Regions from separate parts of the Homo sapiens genome. Here region 1 is linked to region 2. Evidence: promoter capture Hi-C in 16 types of primary human blood cells and fetal thymus (Javierre and others, 2016). All regions are on one chromosome and are shown on one strand. The core of a region is centred on a gene start or on the middle of the fragment in contact, and the rest is flanking DNA. Distances in the headings are between cores, read along the strand shown. Region 1 overlaps MBTPS1 (membrane bound transcription factor peptidase, site 1). Region 2 holds the start of MLYCD (malonyl-CoA decarboxylase).

Region 1 (7,380 bases), core at 873-3,372, 200 kb after region 2:
CTATAGTTTCCAAATGAAGAGTGAAGGAACAAGGCTTGTAAACTCCCATTACCCAACACAATGCCAGGTGTCGGGACACAGAGGTAAATAAAACAGCTCAAGGTGGTAGGAACCCAATCAGGGAGGCAAGCACACTTATTCTATCTGCAATTGTTCTGTTCTATCATGCAGACAACCGACCCAGGGTACAGAGGCCTGGGGAAGCCTGGAGGTAGAGAAGAAACAAGGGAAATCAAAGAATCGTCGTAAGTAGTAGCCTCGGCAGGGTCTTCAGGGTTCAACTTAGGTCGACACAGTGGTTGGTGGGAGAAGGGCGGAGCCACCCAGGAGGCAGAGGAACAGTAAACTGAGCATGCGTGCTGCAGTATGAATGGCTCAGCGTCACTGACGTGCACTCCTTTTACACAAGTGTGTACAGTCCAGTGATTCTGCTTTTTACATTTCAGTATGAATTCCTCAAGTTTCAGGAGTCCTCAAAACACCTACCTGATTATTGGTAAAGACCCTGAAAATGTGAAGTTCTGCATCTGGAGCAAATCCTTGGCACTCCCTCATGCTGGCTATCACACCTGCCACGAATGTGCCATGGCCCAACCCTGCAGTCCATAAAGAAAACAATCCCATAAAACACACTGAATAGCAAGTGCCAGGACGCAACATTCCAGGCCATGAGTTCCACGGCCTTCCATTTCCAAGTGCTGGATAGAGGAGGGCCTCTGCTGCTGCTCTACGATCCCCTTAGACGTCACTGGCACAAGCACCCCTTCCAGGTCTAGCCACTCCACGCTCTCCGGGACAGGGAGCTGCCCCCACACCAGGCATGCCCACTCTCTCCTGAAGTGCTACCTCCCGACATCCTATGAGGTATTCAGAGCAGTTTCTGCCACAACAAAAAGCACAATAACACCTTGGGCTTGTCTGAATAATTGCTGGACAGACTGTGGAATCATGCACTAAACACACTCTCAGTCGATCACATGACCACGTTCTCACTGCTGCTGAGACCCACCATCGTCCAGCGTTCGCTCGTTGGTCCAGTTGGTTCTCTCCTTCACATTTTTGAAGTGGGGATGCTTCTCGCTCAGCCCAGTGTCAAAAACAGCAACTCTTACATTAGCACCTTATTCGGAAAAGAAAGCAAACACAATTATGTTTGAAGAAATCATCATTTTGGATTTTGCCTATAAAATACATTCCTTCCTGGGACCCACAGAAAATGACATATTGTGGAAGGCCAAAGCTGCTCAGAGCAAATAAGTTAGGTCAGCTGCTCCCAGGGTCAGCTGGCTGAGCCAAGGCTAAGAAAAGAGGACAGCAGGAGCAATGCCATCATCTGCCGCCAAATAAGATTTAAGGATAAGCAGAAAATCCTTCTAGACCCTCCTCAATTGCCACCAGCACTCAGGATAGAACCACCCCTTCCACTCCTAGCGGGCTTCTCAAGGCTCCAGGCTGGCACCTACTGATACTCCCCTTCTGGCAATTTATCACAGGTCTCCACCCCCCACCTTCTCGGAGGCCCTGCAAAACACTCACAAACCACACACCCAAGGAGCGGGACACAAAAATGGGAAAAGGGGGAACCATTCCTATTCCCAATAAGGACAGCAATTTATTCAATGCTGCTCATTTATAATACAGCAAACTCTGCCGCAAGGAACAATTAACACCACATGCGGCTAATCACACCTAAGAAAAATCACTGCAGTGTGCACTTTTCTATAATAGTAAGTCTATTCCAGATACTGGCCAAAGCCATCAACACCAATGTGAAATACAACTGGCCTGTCTGACCAAAAATTCTAGAAAGCATCTAGAAAAAAAATACAGAATACCTATATGACTTAACAGCTAACCAATGTAAAGAGGGTAATGTCTTTCTGGCAAAAGGGCTGTGTACATATCAATACTATGTTAAATAATCTATTAAACTGAGATAAATATAAAAATCAATGCTACTTTTAAAAAATGCACACACAAAATCAGAAATCATTTGGTTTGGGGGGAATAAAAAATTATTTCTCATGACTAGAAAATTTGTTTTGTCAAGGAGTTCTCATAAAAAGGTAAAACCATGGGGAGACACACATTTTAATGAAATGCCAGTCCACCGGGTATTAAAAGTTGAAGTATCTCAGATATTTTGGAGGGCAGGGCGCCAAGGAGATCAAAGGAGAGGTAAGGGTCCCTAAGTCAAGGATATACGAAAGACACCGAGGCAAACTGCGCTGTCCTGGGAGCAGGTGAAACTGGCTTACATTTAGAAGTCAAGGTAAAAATCTTCACATTAGATAAAACATGAAGGTTTGGTCATGATGAATCAGCAAGGGAAAAATCCTTATTGTTCTGAATTTTATTTCACAGGACATGATCATTAACACTGCTTCCTGTTCTGAAACAAATCATCAGCAGGTGTGATAGTCAATTACTTAGTCACTCTGCATTCAGGACACCAAACTCAAGTGATAAACTAATTTCCGTGGAATTGCCCAGATCAGGGACCATCTTTCCCCAAGAAGTGACAGACTTCTGCAGGCCTGTCGGTCAGCGCCAGTGGCCGGCAGCGCTGTGCTCGTTTGTGTATGTGTCAATAGGAGAGAAGTGCTCCACAGCCTTCCCTTCTAACCTCAGAAATGGTAACAAAAATAAGACACAAATGGTGACAATTAGGAAAGCCACAGAAACAGATGCCTGGCATCACAGGAGTCAAAGATGAGGAGTACTTGGCTACCTCCAGCTAAACAAATAGTAAGAAGGTTAGATGTGGAAGGCTGCAGGGCTTTAGCACTAGGCAGTCCCGAACATGGAATTCCTGCATGTCTGGACTTTCCGCGCCTTCCCTGGGTAATAGCACACACCTGTATATCCCATAAGCACCTTCCCTGGGTAATAGCACACACCTGTATATCCCATCTGCCAGAGCACATCTGCCTGCAGTGTCTGGGCAACCTGGCGCGGGATGGCTCTCAGCAGCCGTCTGCTCGAATGCCTTCCCGTAGCATGCCAGAAGCCAGAGCCCAGGGAGAGGCTGGCTCTTCGCAGGGGACGTGATGATTGCCACTTCTGGCTCCACCGGGTTTCATTGCAGGGTACTGTGGGGTCAGCTACAGGCAAGGGAGAGAAAGATCAGAACAGAAGAGCAAAACGAACTACACGATACCCGCCAGGCAAAACTATCCTAAACACAGGGAGGATTACCATTTGCCACTCTGTTTGAAGGAAAGTGGGATTATCTTCTTTTTCTGGAAGGACAGTCTCAATGCAATTATAATTATAGGACGTTATTTAGCTGTCATATTACTCCCAAATAGTTCTCTACTTGAAATTTTCTAACCAAGGTAAGGCAAAGAAAGACTGATTAAATTAAATAATAATAATTTTAAAAAGCTAATTGTGATAATAAAAATAAAGAAAAACCTGATTTTCATCAGCAACTTGTTCTCACTGAACCAGAAGGGGGAAAAGTTAAAGAAAATGACCCTAAGCATTCATTGAGTTTTATTTTTACTATAAGTTTCACTAGATTTCTTGGGCAGGCAAAAGCCATCAAATATCAACAGGACTTAAAACAACTGTATATTGCTCAATATTCTCAATATTCTTATCTGCTAGAATTTCACCTTTCAAAAACAAAAGGACTACACAGGAGTGAGAGACAGGGAATTTCTGAGGGTGATGGAATTATTCCATATCTTGATTTTGTTGGTGGATATTTGATGGTATACTTTTGCCAAAACTTGCCAAACTATACTCTAAAAAGGACGAATTTTACTATCTGTAAGTCTCTTTATTTTTAAAAAGCGGAGGAAAAAGGCAGTACCACAGAAATGGCCTAAGGGTTTTCCCTTAACCTTTCAAAGACCATGTTATAATGAACAAGTCATATTTCAAATCAGTTTTAAGAAGAGAAAATCTGTAATACCAATACAGTTCTCTTTCTAAAGCAAATCACTGTCATTTTTATTCTAGCCTTACCAACCTACACCCATGTTAAGTACAGGGACCTGGAAACACATACAGTCACGTCAATTCTGGTAAGTAAATATTTGCACAGTCCAACTGAAACGGTTCTTAATTGAAATTCCTCTGCTGAGTCTGATCTTTAAGTCAACAGCATGGGACAATGCTGCAGGTGCTGACTGAAGAGCAACACTGAGACCAGGAATGGGCCTGCTCTGCTTGACCCTGCACAGGCCAGACTCCACCTCCAGTATTATACTCAGTTCAGGGCTTCACAGCTTTCAAACAATTTAGAAAAATTAGTACATTCAAAGGAAAACACTTAAAATGATGAGGGGACTTGAAATCAAGTCACCTGAGTAACTATGGCAAGAACTGAGGATTAGCCTGGAGAGAAAAAATTGCCAAAAGGGACACACCATGGGTATCTTCAAATATCAAAAAGACAGCTATCTTCACCACATCTTTAACTACTGTCACGCAGAAAACAGATAGGCTTTGTCTTATGGCCCATGGGATAGAACCAAATGGGTGGGATGCAGAGTGAGAATGGTGTCAGCCCAAAATAAAGCAAAACCTTCTACGAGTAACAGCCAGAGAAACTGTTAACATTTGGTTACTTACAACATCTTGAACACTCTACTAAGCTTTCTTCATATGCATTATTTCATGTTATCTTCATGACAGCCCCACGAGGTAGGGAGTATCATCTCCATTTTATGAATGAGAAAAACTGAGGCTTCAAGATGGAAAAGACGCTTACTGCTGAAGGTCACAGCTAACTTCAAGGGGCATGGGAACGCAGTGGGCAAGTCTCCCCTCACAGGGGTGTCAGGCACCCGGAACACACGCAGTGGAGATGGTGTCCATGGGAATCCCATCTCCAGAGAGTCTAGGATTCTTGTGCTAAAATTAGGCAACTCCGTGTCTCCTAAAGCATTCTAGAGCTCTTTAAGATAACTGAAGTAAAAAATAAAGTCAACTAAAATACCGCAATGTATACATTTGGCTAACTGTATCAGGTTTGATTGGCTTTTATCTTCCTGGATTATTTTGAAGTGTTACTGCTTTTTAAGGAGAATAATACATAACATCTGGAGTAGCAGAAAAGGCTCTGAAAAAGTCAGACGCCTTAAGTTTACACCTGGTTTTACTATGAAAATTAAACTTCTCTTCGTGTGTGTGTGTGTGTGTGTGTGTGTGTGTGTGTTTGTGTGTGTGTTTAATGCAGCAAAACCTCAGAGGCTCTTAGGCCTAAAATATGATAGACAAAGAAGAGTAAAATTTTAATTTCTTCTTCCTTCTGATGAAAGAAATGATCGTAAATAATAACAGAACTAGAAATTTGTTAACCTGATTTAAGATAAACAGGGAAAAAAAACCCTTTTCCTTTGGTAACACATATCTTTGGAAAATATCATTTAATAAATATGCAATTTACTATTTGAGACTAAACTCTATTTTGACAAGCCCAATTGTAATGAAGTAGGAAAGACTAAGCCCTGGAGAAGAAAAGGAAAAGCCAAGTTGCTTCCATGCTCACACCTGCACAGCTGATGACTTCAACGAACCCAGCTGATGCATGACCATTCCTGGTCAGGAGGCTTTGACAAAAACAAAACGAAACCCCAGGAAAACATGTTTTGCAAGAGTGCCTTTAAAAATCGGGCTGGGTGCAGTGACTCACGCCTGTAATCCCAGCACTTTGGGAGGCTGAGGCAGGCAGATCACCTGAGGTCAGGAGTTCAAGACCAGCCTGACCAATATGGAGAAACCCTGTCTCTACTAAAAATACAAAATTAGCCAGGCATGGTGGCGCATGCCTGTAATCCCAGCTACTTGGGAGGCTAAGGCAGGAGAATCACTTGAACCTGGGTGGAGGTTGAGGTGAGCCAAGATCGCGCCACTGCACTCCAGCCTGGGCAACAAGAGCGAAACTCCGTCTCAAAAAAATAAATAAATAAAAAGGAAAAGAAAAAATAAAACACACACTGAGAGAAGCGAAATGCAAGGAAGAAGCAGACACAAGGACGCGTCTTTCAGCACGAGAAGGCGGCCGCAGCCTTGAAGTCTGAAGGCTTTGAGATGAAGCTGGCGAAAATCGCTTCCAACAGAAACAAAGATCACTACCATCTACTACTGCAAACCCTCAGATTTTCTTCTACCAGAACAGTACGAAGTCTCTTTTTAAAAAATAATTCTGCCCCCCCAACACCGACCCTGCGCACTAAACAAAACTAAACTAAAAAATTCCTACCAGGAAAATGTTCACAATTAGCAAACTAGATGGAAGGATGCGGATACTCACTGTACTATTTTTCAACTACTCTGCAGTTTGAGATTTTCAAAGTAAACAGCAGAGAGAAATTTGCCTACAGTCACAATACTCACATTCAGCATACTTGAGGGAACGAAAGACTTTTCGTTGGGGCGTGACCCGTTTGATGTTTGGATGATCTTCAAGTGTTAGCAGCCCCGCTTTCTGTTTTTCTTTTATCTGAATCACCTCAAAATCACTAGGGTAGTCACTGGATGGATTGTTTCGAGGTATAATTCTCCAATTGTCTACTTCACTGCTCTTCAGGGCACTTGAAATAAATGAATTTCTAGCTTTGGCTGTAAAGTATCCATTGAAAGCCACAATATATTCTGAAACCAATCACCACAAACAAAAATAAGATTTACGCACATACATTATAACATATACTATATTGTATCTAATCTAAAATCTGGCAAAAGAAAAATTATCTTAAAGCCCACAGCAGACGAGAGAAAACACAAAGACTAGTTTAAGTACCTAGACAGCTGTCTGCAGAGCTTTGAGGAAAAATGATCTATATGGGGCTGGGCGCGGTGGCTCACGCCTGTAATCCCAGCACTTTGGGAGGCTGACGTGGGCAGATTACGAGGTGAGGAGTTTGAGACCAGCCTGGCCAACATAGTGAAACCCCATCTCTACTAAAAATACAAAAAATTAGCTGGGTGTGGTGGTGGGCGCCTATAATCCTGGGAGGCTAAGGCAGGAGAATCACTTGAACCTGGGAGGCGGAGATTGCAGTAAGCAGAGATTGCACCACTGCACTCCTGCCTGGTGACAGAGCAAGCCTCCGTCTCAAAAAAAAAAAAAAAAAGATCTCTATGAATCACCTAACCACAAAGAATACATCATTCGAAACCAGATACCCGTGATATTTTTTTAAAAAGCAAATACCTACAGAAGTTTGAATACACAACAAAGAAATGTATATAATTTTTATCAAGTAGGAAAAAGAAATTCAGAGAACTGAATGCTCAGTTAGTGTTTCTTAAAACGAAAACAGTAACAAAATTCCAGAGTGGATTATGTGAGACTATTTGCTCAGTTCTTCACATCTGGTCACTCAAACTTTAGAACATAAACATTCTGCACCTCCCAGCTCC
Region 2 (7,524 bases), core at 4,330-6,829:
TACAACAATTATGGTACATACACTCAATTGAATGTTATGCAGCCATTAAAAAGGATAATTATGAAGGTGATTTAGAAACGTGGGAGGTGTTTGTGATACGATGGCAAGTGGAAAAAACCAAAATCAACAGCACAAACACAGTGATTACAACTCTAAAAAATATGTTGGCCTGTGGACAAATACTGAAAGGATTTGCCGAAATAAAAGCTGTAGTGATTAAGATGCTAGGATCATGGGCGATTATTTATTTTTTCTTTTTTCCCAGATTTTCTTTAATTTTTTTTTTTTTTTTTTTTTTTTTGAGGCAGAGTTTCACTCTTGTTGCCCAGGCTGGCGTACAATGGTGTAATCTGGGCTTACTGCAGCCTCCGTCTCCCAGATTCAAGTGATTCTCCTGCCTCAGCCTCCAGAGTAGCTGGGATTACAGGCGCCCACCACCACGCCTGTGGTGTACAAAAAATACAAATTTGTTGTATTTTTTGTAGAGATGGAGTTTCACCATATTGGCCAGGCTGGTCTCGAACTCCTGACCTCAGGTGATCCACCTGTCTCAGTCTCCCAAAGTGCTGGGATTACAGACGTGAGCCACCACACCCAGCCTGATTTTTCTTAATACTTAAAGTAGACATCTTTTGGGACAACTGCCTAGCCCACACCCCTCTTGTCCGAACACTGTGTCCCCACCCAAAAGGCTAAATCCCTAACATCTCTGAGGGCTCCGTGTTATCCTGTATCCCAGTCTAGCCCTGATCCAAAGTGAACCAATCAGATTCTCTCTACTGAGTCTTTGAAACTGGTAGAGCAATGATAATGCCTCCGAGGTAGTTTTTTTTGTTTGTTTTTCATTTTCTTTTGAGATGGAGTCTTGCTCTGTCGCCCAGGCTGGAGTGCAGTGGCCCGATCTCAGCTCACTGCAACCTCCACCCACCGGGTTCAAGTAGTTCTCTGCCTCAGCCTCCTGAGTACCTGGGATTGCAGGCACCTGCCACTACACCTGGCTAATTTTTGTATTTTTAGTAGAGACGGGGTTTCACCATCTTGGCCAGGCTGGTCTTCAACTCCTGACCTCGTGATCTACCCGCTTCGGCCTCCCAAAGTGCTGGGATCATAGGCGTGAGCCACCGCGCCCAGCCAGTTTTGTTTTTTTTTTAAGACAAAATACCCATAACATAAAATTCACTATTTTAGCCATTTTAAAGTGTGCAAAGCAGTGGTTTTTAGTATATTCAAAATGTTATGCTATCATCACCACTACCTCACTTCACACCGTTTTCATCAGCCCAACAAGAAACTTGTGCTGATAAGCAGTCTTTCCCCTCTCCCCATCCCCGACCCCACACAGCCCCTGGCAACTACAGATCAACTTTTTTTCTGTCGCTAGGGATTTGCCTGTTTTGTACATGTCATATAAATGGAATCATACAGCACATGGCCGTTTGTGACTGCCTTCTTTTTGCTCAGCACAGTGTTTTCAAGGTTCATCCATGTTGTAGCAGGGGCCAGGGGTTCATTTGTGTTTATAGCTAAATAATACTCCGTGGTATGGTGAGACCGCCTTTGGTTTACCCCATCCATCCACTGATGAACACGTGGGTTCTTTCTACTTTTTGCTATTTTAAGTTACATATTAGGAAAATGTGTGCACACGTTTTTGTGTGAATGTATGTTCACAATTCTCTTGGGTACCTAGGAGTGGAATTACTGGGCTCTATGGCAATTCTCTTTGACTTTTTGAGGCACTGCCAAACTGATTTCCACAGTGGCTGTATCATTTAGCATTCTCATCAGCGGAGTATGAGGGTTCTAATTTCTGTACATTCTCACCAGTTATTCTGTTGTTATTATTATTGCCATCCTAGTGGATGTGAAGTGGTAACTCGTGGCTTTGATTACATTTCCCTAACGACTAATGACGTTGAGCATCTTTTTATGCACTTACTGGCCATATATATTTACACATACACATACATACATATACACACACACACATATATATATACATACACATATATATATATACACACACATATATATATTTTTTGGAGAGATGTCTATTCTAATCTTCTGTCCATTTTTAATTAGGTTGTTTGTCTTTTTATTGTTTAGTGGTAGGAATTCTTTTTTTTTTTTTTTTTTTAAACAGAGTCTCGCTCTGTTGCCCAGGCTGGAGTGCAGTGGCGCGATCTGGCTCACTGCAAGCTCACCCTCCCGGGTTCACGCAATTCTCCTTCCTCAGCCTCCTGAGTAGCTGGGACTACAGGCGCCGGCCACCACCCCCGGCTAATTTTTTGTATTTTTAGTGGAGACGGGGTTTCACCGTGTTAGCCAGGATGGTCGCGATCTCCTGACTTTGTGATCCGCCTGCCTTGGCCTCCCAAAGTGCTGGGATTACAGGCGTGAGCCACCATGCCCGGCCACAATTCTTTATATAATCCACATAAAGACCCTTATCAGATATATGATTTTCAAATATTTCTCCCACTCTGTGGCTCATCTTTTTACTTTATTGATGGTGTCCTTCAATATATAAAAGTTTCTCATTTTGATGAGGTCCAAGTTATCTATTATTCTTTTGTTGTTTGCACTTGTGACGTCATATTTAAGAAATAATTGCTATTCCAAAGTCCTGAAGATTTACACCTATTTTCCCTTCTAAGGATTTTATAGTCTTAGCTCTTACATTTAGGTCTTGGATCCATTTTGGGTTAATTCTTCTATTGGCTGTGAGGTAGGTAGGGGTCCATGTTTGTTGTTTTGCTTGTAGATGTCTAGTTGTCCCCGTCCCATTTGTTGAAAAGACTCACTTTTACCCACTGAATGGTCTTAGAACCCTTGTCAAAAATGAATTGACCAGGCTGGTCACGGTGGCTCACGCCTGTAATCCCAGCACTTTGGGAGGCCAAGGTGGGCGGATCACGAGGTCAGGAGTTCGAGACCAGCCTCGCCAACTTAGTGAAACCCTGTCTCTACTAAAAATACAAAAATTAGCTGGGTGTGGTGGCACACACCTGTAGTCCCAGCTACTCAGGAGGCTGAGGCAGGAGAATTACTTGAACCTGGGAGGCAGAGGTTGCAGTGAGCCGAGACCATGCCACTGCACTCCAGCCTGAGTGACAGAGTGAGACTCTGTCTCAAAAAAAAAAAAAAAAATCAATTGACCATAGATGGGTTTATTTCTGAATGTTCAATTTTATTCTATTGATTTTTGTGTTTTATCTTTCTGCCAATACCACATTATTTTGATTACTGTGGCTTTGTAGTAAGTTTGTTCTTTTTAAAGATTGTTTTGGCCACTCAGGGCCCCTAGCATTTCTATATAAATATTAGAATATGTTTTTCTATTTCTGCAAAAAAAAAAAGGGCAGTGAAATTTTAATAGGGATTGTATTAGATCTGTAGGTTAATTTTGGGAGTATTGCCATTGTATTAGTCTATTCTCACGCTGCTATAAAGAAATACACGAGACTGGGTAATTCATAAAGAAAAGAGGTTTAATCGGATTATGGTTCCACAAGCTGTACAGAAGACGTAGTGGCTTCTGCTTCTGGAGAGGCCTCAGGAGGCTTCCATTCATGGCGGAAGGCAAAGGGGGAGTGAGGAGCTTCACATAGCCAGAGCAGGAGAGAGGGGGTGGTGATGCACACTTCTAAACAACCGGATCTCCTGAGAACTCACTGTAGGGTACCAAGCGGGGATGGTGCTAACCCATTTATGAGAACTCTGCCCCTATGATCCAATCATTTCTTACCAGGCGCCACCTCCAACACTGAGGATTACAACTAGACATGAGATTTGGTTGGACACAGATCCAAACCATATGAGCTATATTAACAATATTACATCTTCCAATCCATGAACCATGCATGGACCATTCCATTTGTTTAGGTCTTCTTTAATTTCCTTCAATACTGTTCTGTGGTTTTCCATCTACCAGTCTCACACTTCCTTGGTTAAACATGTTTCTTTTATCCCTTCAGATGTTGTTGTAAATAGAATTGTTTCTTTAATTTCATTTTTGGATTGGGGCAGTCTTTTGAAATAAGGACATGAGTGGGAAAAAGCAGAGGATGGCTGTTGACGCCTAGAGAAAAAAGTATAAACACAGAGAAAAAAAAAACAGAAGCCAGAAATTACATAAAAAGGAAGGCACCGGGAAAGATGAGAAAGAACAGGGTTGTGGGAGTACTACACTTAGCAAATGCTTAAGCAAAGTCAAGCTTTCAAGACAAGATTCCTAAAGCAAGGCAGGAGTATCCTAGGACAGACAAAAGCTCACTCGACAAGGCAAAGAGACAAACACCAGAGTTTGGACCCCACCAACTCCCTTAGCCAGCTGGCAATATGGTTTCACCACTTCTTAGAAAAGAGGAATGGAGAGGTGTCCTCAAAAGCCACCACTAGGCTTTCAGAATGTTTTGTGTGTCTGTGTCTTGGCAGAATGAGCCAAACGTACTTTCTTCGTGCCCCATAAGATGAGACACACCCAGCAAAGGCTGTCCTCATACAGAACTACCTCCAGGTGTCTTTTATACTGCAAGACCTGCACCAAAGGGTTCTACCTATAGAAATCCTAGCACCTAGACATAGTCAACCAAGTACATGGCTCCCTCACCCTCCAACCAAAGATGCCATATTTCCATCAGAGTGGAACAAAATCCCACTGTGTTCCTAATGCCTCCTGCAATTTTGCATGTGGGAGACATGGCTGGTATGTGACATTCTCTTCTACAGATTGTAATGGATTGGGGAAGGAGGGGGAACTAGAGTTCAGGCCTATCTTTCTAGAGGACAAAATAAATATGCCTTGATAACTGCAATTATCTGAAAACTATTTCAAAGAAAACTCTTTGTCTCATTCTGGCATTTGCTCAAGGGTATGGCTTTCCATCAGTCTCTCTGTCTCCATGTCTCTTTTACATACATATGTATGTGTATATGCGTGCGTATGTGTACATACATCCATACATATAGACATATTCTCTCTCTCTCCACACACACTCACACACCCCTCCAACCTCTGTGGCTCTGAGCGTCATGTGTGTAAGACACTGACGCGAATGGTGAGTGCCTAGGCAGGGGTCAAACAAAGGCTACCTACCATGCCAGAGGATTGCCACAAACACCTCTTAAGCAAGCATATTCCTTGGCTCCTCCCAGACACACTGAATCTGAATCTCTAGGATTCTGATTTCGGAGCCCAGGAATCCTCCGGTGCAGGAGTTCCCAGGTGACTCTGATGCACCGGGAGGCTGGAGGCGCTCGGATCTAGAGAGGAGGCGGCACTTGTGCAGTGCAGTCGGGAAAGAGAGGAGGGGCTGGGCCGGTGCCTTTAGGCGGTCAGGTGTTAGGACCGGAGTACAAGCCGCCAGCCGCGCGGGAGCAGGCCCCGAGGCAGCCCAGCCGCGGGGCAGTAACCTTTAGCCACACTTGGCCTCCGGCCGCCGCCAGAGCCGCTCCGCCCCCGCCGCCTCGCCCCCACCGCCCCGCCCTCCTATTGGCCGCGTCCCCAGCCGGGCTCGCGGCCTCGGCCAATGGGGCCGGCGCGCGCCGGAAGCCGGAAGCGCGGCAGCGGCGGCGGCGCTCCCCCTCGGCAGCTGTTGTGGGGCACCATGCGAGGCTTCGGGCCAGGCTTGACGGCCAGGCGTCTCCTCCCGCTGCGGTTGCCCCCGCGGCCGCCCGGGCCCCGGCTGGCGAGCGGGCAGGCGGCCGGCGCCCTGGAGCGGGCCATGGACGAGCTGCTGCGCCGCGCGGTGCCGCCGACGCCGGCCTACGAGCTGCGCGAGAAGACACCGGCGCCCGCCGAGGGTCAGTGCGCGGACTTCGTGAGCTTCTACGGTGGGCTGGCCGAGACGGCCCAGCGGGCCGAACTGCTGGGCCGCCTGGCGCGGGGCTTCGGCGTGGACCACGGCCAGGTGGCGGAGCAGAGCGCCGGCGTGCTCCATCTGCGCCAGCAGCAGCGGGAGGCGGCGGTGCTGCTGCAGGCCGAGGACCGGCTGCGCTACGCGCTGGTGCCGCGCTATCGCGGCCTCTTCCACCACATCAGCAAGCTGGACGGCGGCGTGCGCTTCCTGGTGCAGCTGCGGGCCGACCTGCTGGAGGCGCAGGCCCTCAAGCTGGTGGAGGGGCCGGACGTCCGGGTAAGGGGCCGCCGTCGATCCCCCGGCAGCGCGGACTGGCCGCCCTCCTCGAGTAGTCCTCACTTGCCCCCTCCAAGTCCCACACACCCCGCCTTCCCTGCCCGATAGCACGCTCACTTCGCCCGCAGTTACCGCCTGCCAACTGTGTCCCCTTCCCACGCTGTCTGAGTCCTGGCCTCGTCAGAGCACACCCCCGCCTTCCTCCAGTCTGTCCTTGAAGTCCTCACTTGTATAGTGTTTACTAAATACTCAGCACTTGGTGGTCTTTAAGGTAGCTGTCACCTCTCGTACCTGATTAGTGTGTGCTCTACAGTCTTTTGAAATTATTGTAGCTGAGAAGTGTTTCATCTATATGGTATACCTGAACTAGAGCATCAGGCAGCCTTCTGAGACCCTGGATGGTGTTTCAGAAGTTCACTGGGCACCCGCTATGTGTGAGACATTGTCCTGAGAAGTCCTGTGAAATGCACAAAGGTAAATAGGACTCAAGGTCACCACCACCACCCAGGAGTCTCCATGGCTTCTGGCCTTGTCTGTGCTCCATGACTTTTGGGAGGGCATTTAACTCCCTGCGTTCAGTACTTAATGTGATGATTCTGAGTTGACTTGAGGTAATCAGGCATTAGCACAGTTCATTCATGTTAAATGCAGACACATACTTTGAGATTTAAATGATTATGACCCGAAAGAAGGCCTAGAGCAACATATACTCTTCTTTTATACTGTTAGTATTAAATACGGCGAAAAACTAACCTGCCCTTTTTTTATTTTTATTTTTGTTGCCCAGACTGGAGTACAGTGGTGTTATCACGGCTCACTGCAGCCTCGACTTCCCCAGGCTCAAGCAATCTTCCCACCTCAGCCTCCTGAGTAGCTGGGACTACAGGTGCAGGCCACCATGCCCGGCTAATTTTTTTTTTTTTTTTTTTTTTTTGTAGAGAGGGCGTTTCACCATGTGGCCCAGGCTTAACCTGCCCTTTTAATGAACGAAAAATGACGTAAATGTTTCAGGAAGTTTTGGACATTCAGAAGTTTGTTATGTGCAGTTGGTGTTAAAAAAAAATTGAACACTTGAATGATTATGACTTGACCCATTTAAGAACTCTAATACTGGTTTAATAGTTTACATTCCTTCAGTCTTACGTGGGTGATAACACGTATCCCTTTTACAGTAAAGGAGAACATGCTGAGGTTGTGTTACTTGTCCTGAAATTCAGAGCGAAAAGCTCTTGCTGATCACCCACCCTAATCCAGGGTTATTTGCACTACGCTTTATATCACTGTCTTACCGTTAATCAGATGTTTATTAGAAACTTTCTTTTTTGGCTACTTAGATGCATAAAATTGGGCATAATTAAGTATGGGATTAATGTCAAGAGTGACAACA

Evidence for each region. The method cuts DNA at HindIII sites, captures the fragments that hold promoters and counts their contacts. A CHiCAGO score of 5 or more calls a contact.
Region 1: a contact is called between a fragment that was not itself captured here and the fragment with the promoter of MLYCD in region 2, in 1 of 17 cell types (neutrophils). The highest score is 5.7, in neutrophils.

The regions. Positions count from the first base shown.
Region 1 is chr16:84,092,702-84,100,081 of GRCh38, forward strand. It overlaps MBTPS1 (membrane bound transcription factor peptidase, site 1), which reads right to left. Exons shown (of 23, transcript NM_003791.4): 3 at 6,352-6,609; 4 at 2,901-3,104; 5 at 1,010-1,120; 6 at 487-596. Among named protein-coding and RNA genes, the nearest start is that of MBTPS1, 21 kb to the right of the region's middle. RefSeq lists an enhancer at 1-47. The HindIII fragment of the contact is 4,965 bases long and covers 1-4,605 here.
Region 2 is chr16:83,893,536-83,901,059 of GRCh38, forward strand. It overlaps MLYCD (malonyl-CoA decarboxylase), which reads left to right and starts at 5,580. Exons shown (of 5, transcript NM_012213.3): 1 at 5,580-6,137. The coding sequence starts at 5,610. RefSeq lists silencers at 5,350-5,779, 6,080-6,249. The HindIII fragment of the contact is 8,175 bases long and covers 4,216-7,524 here.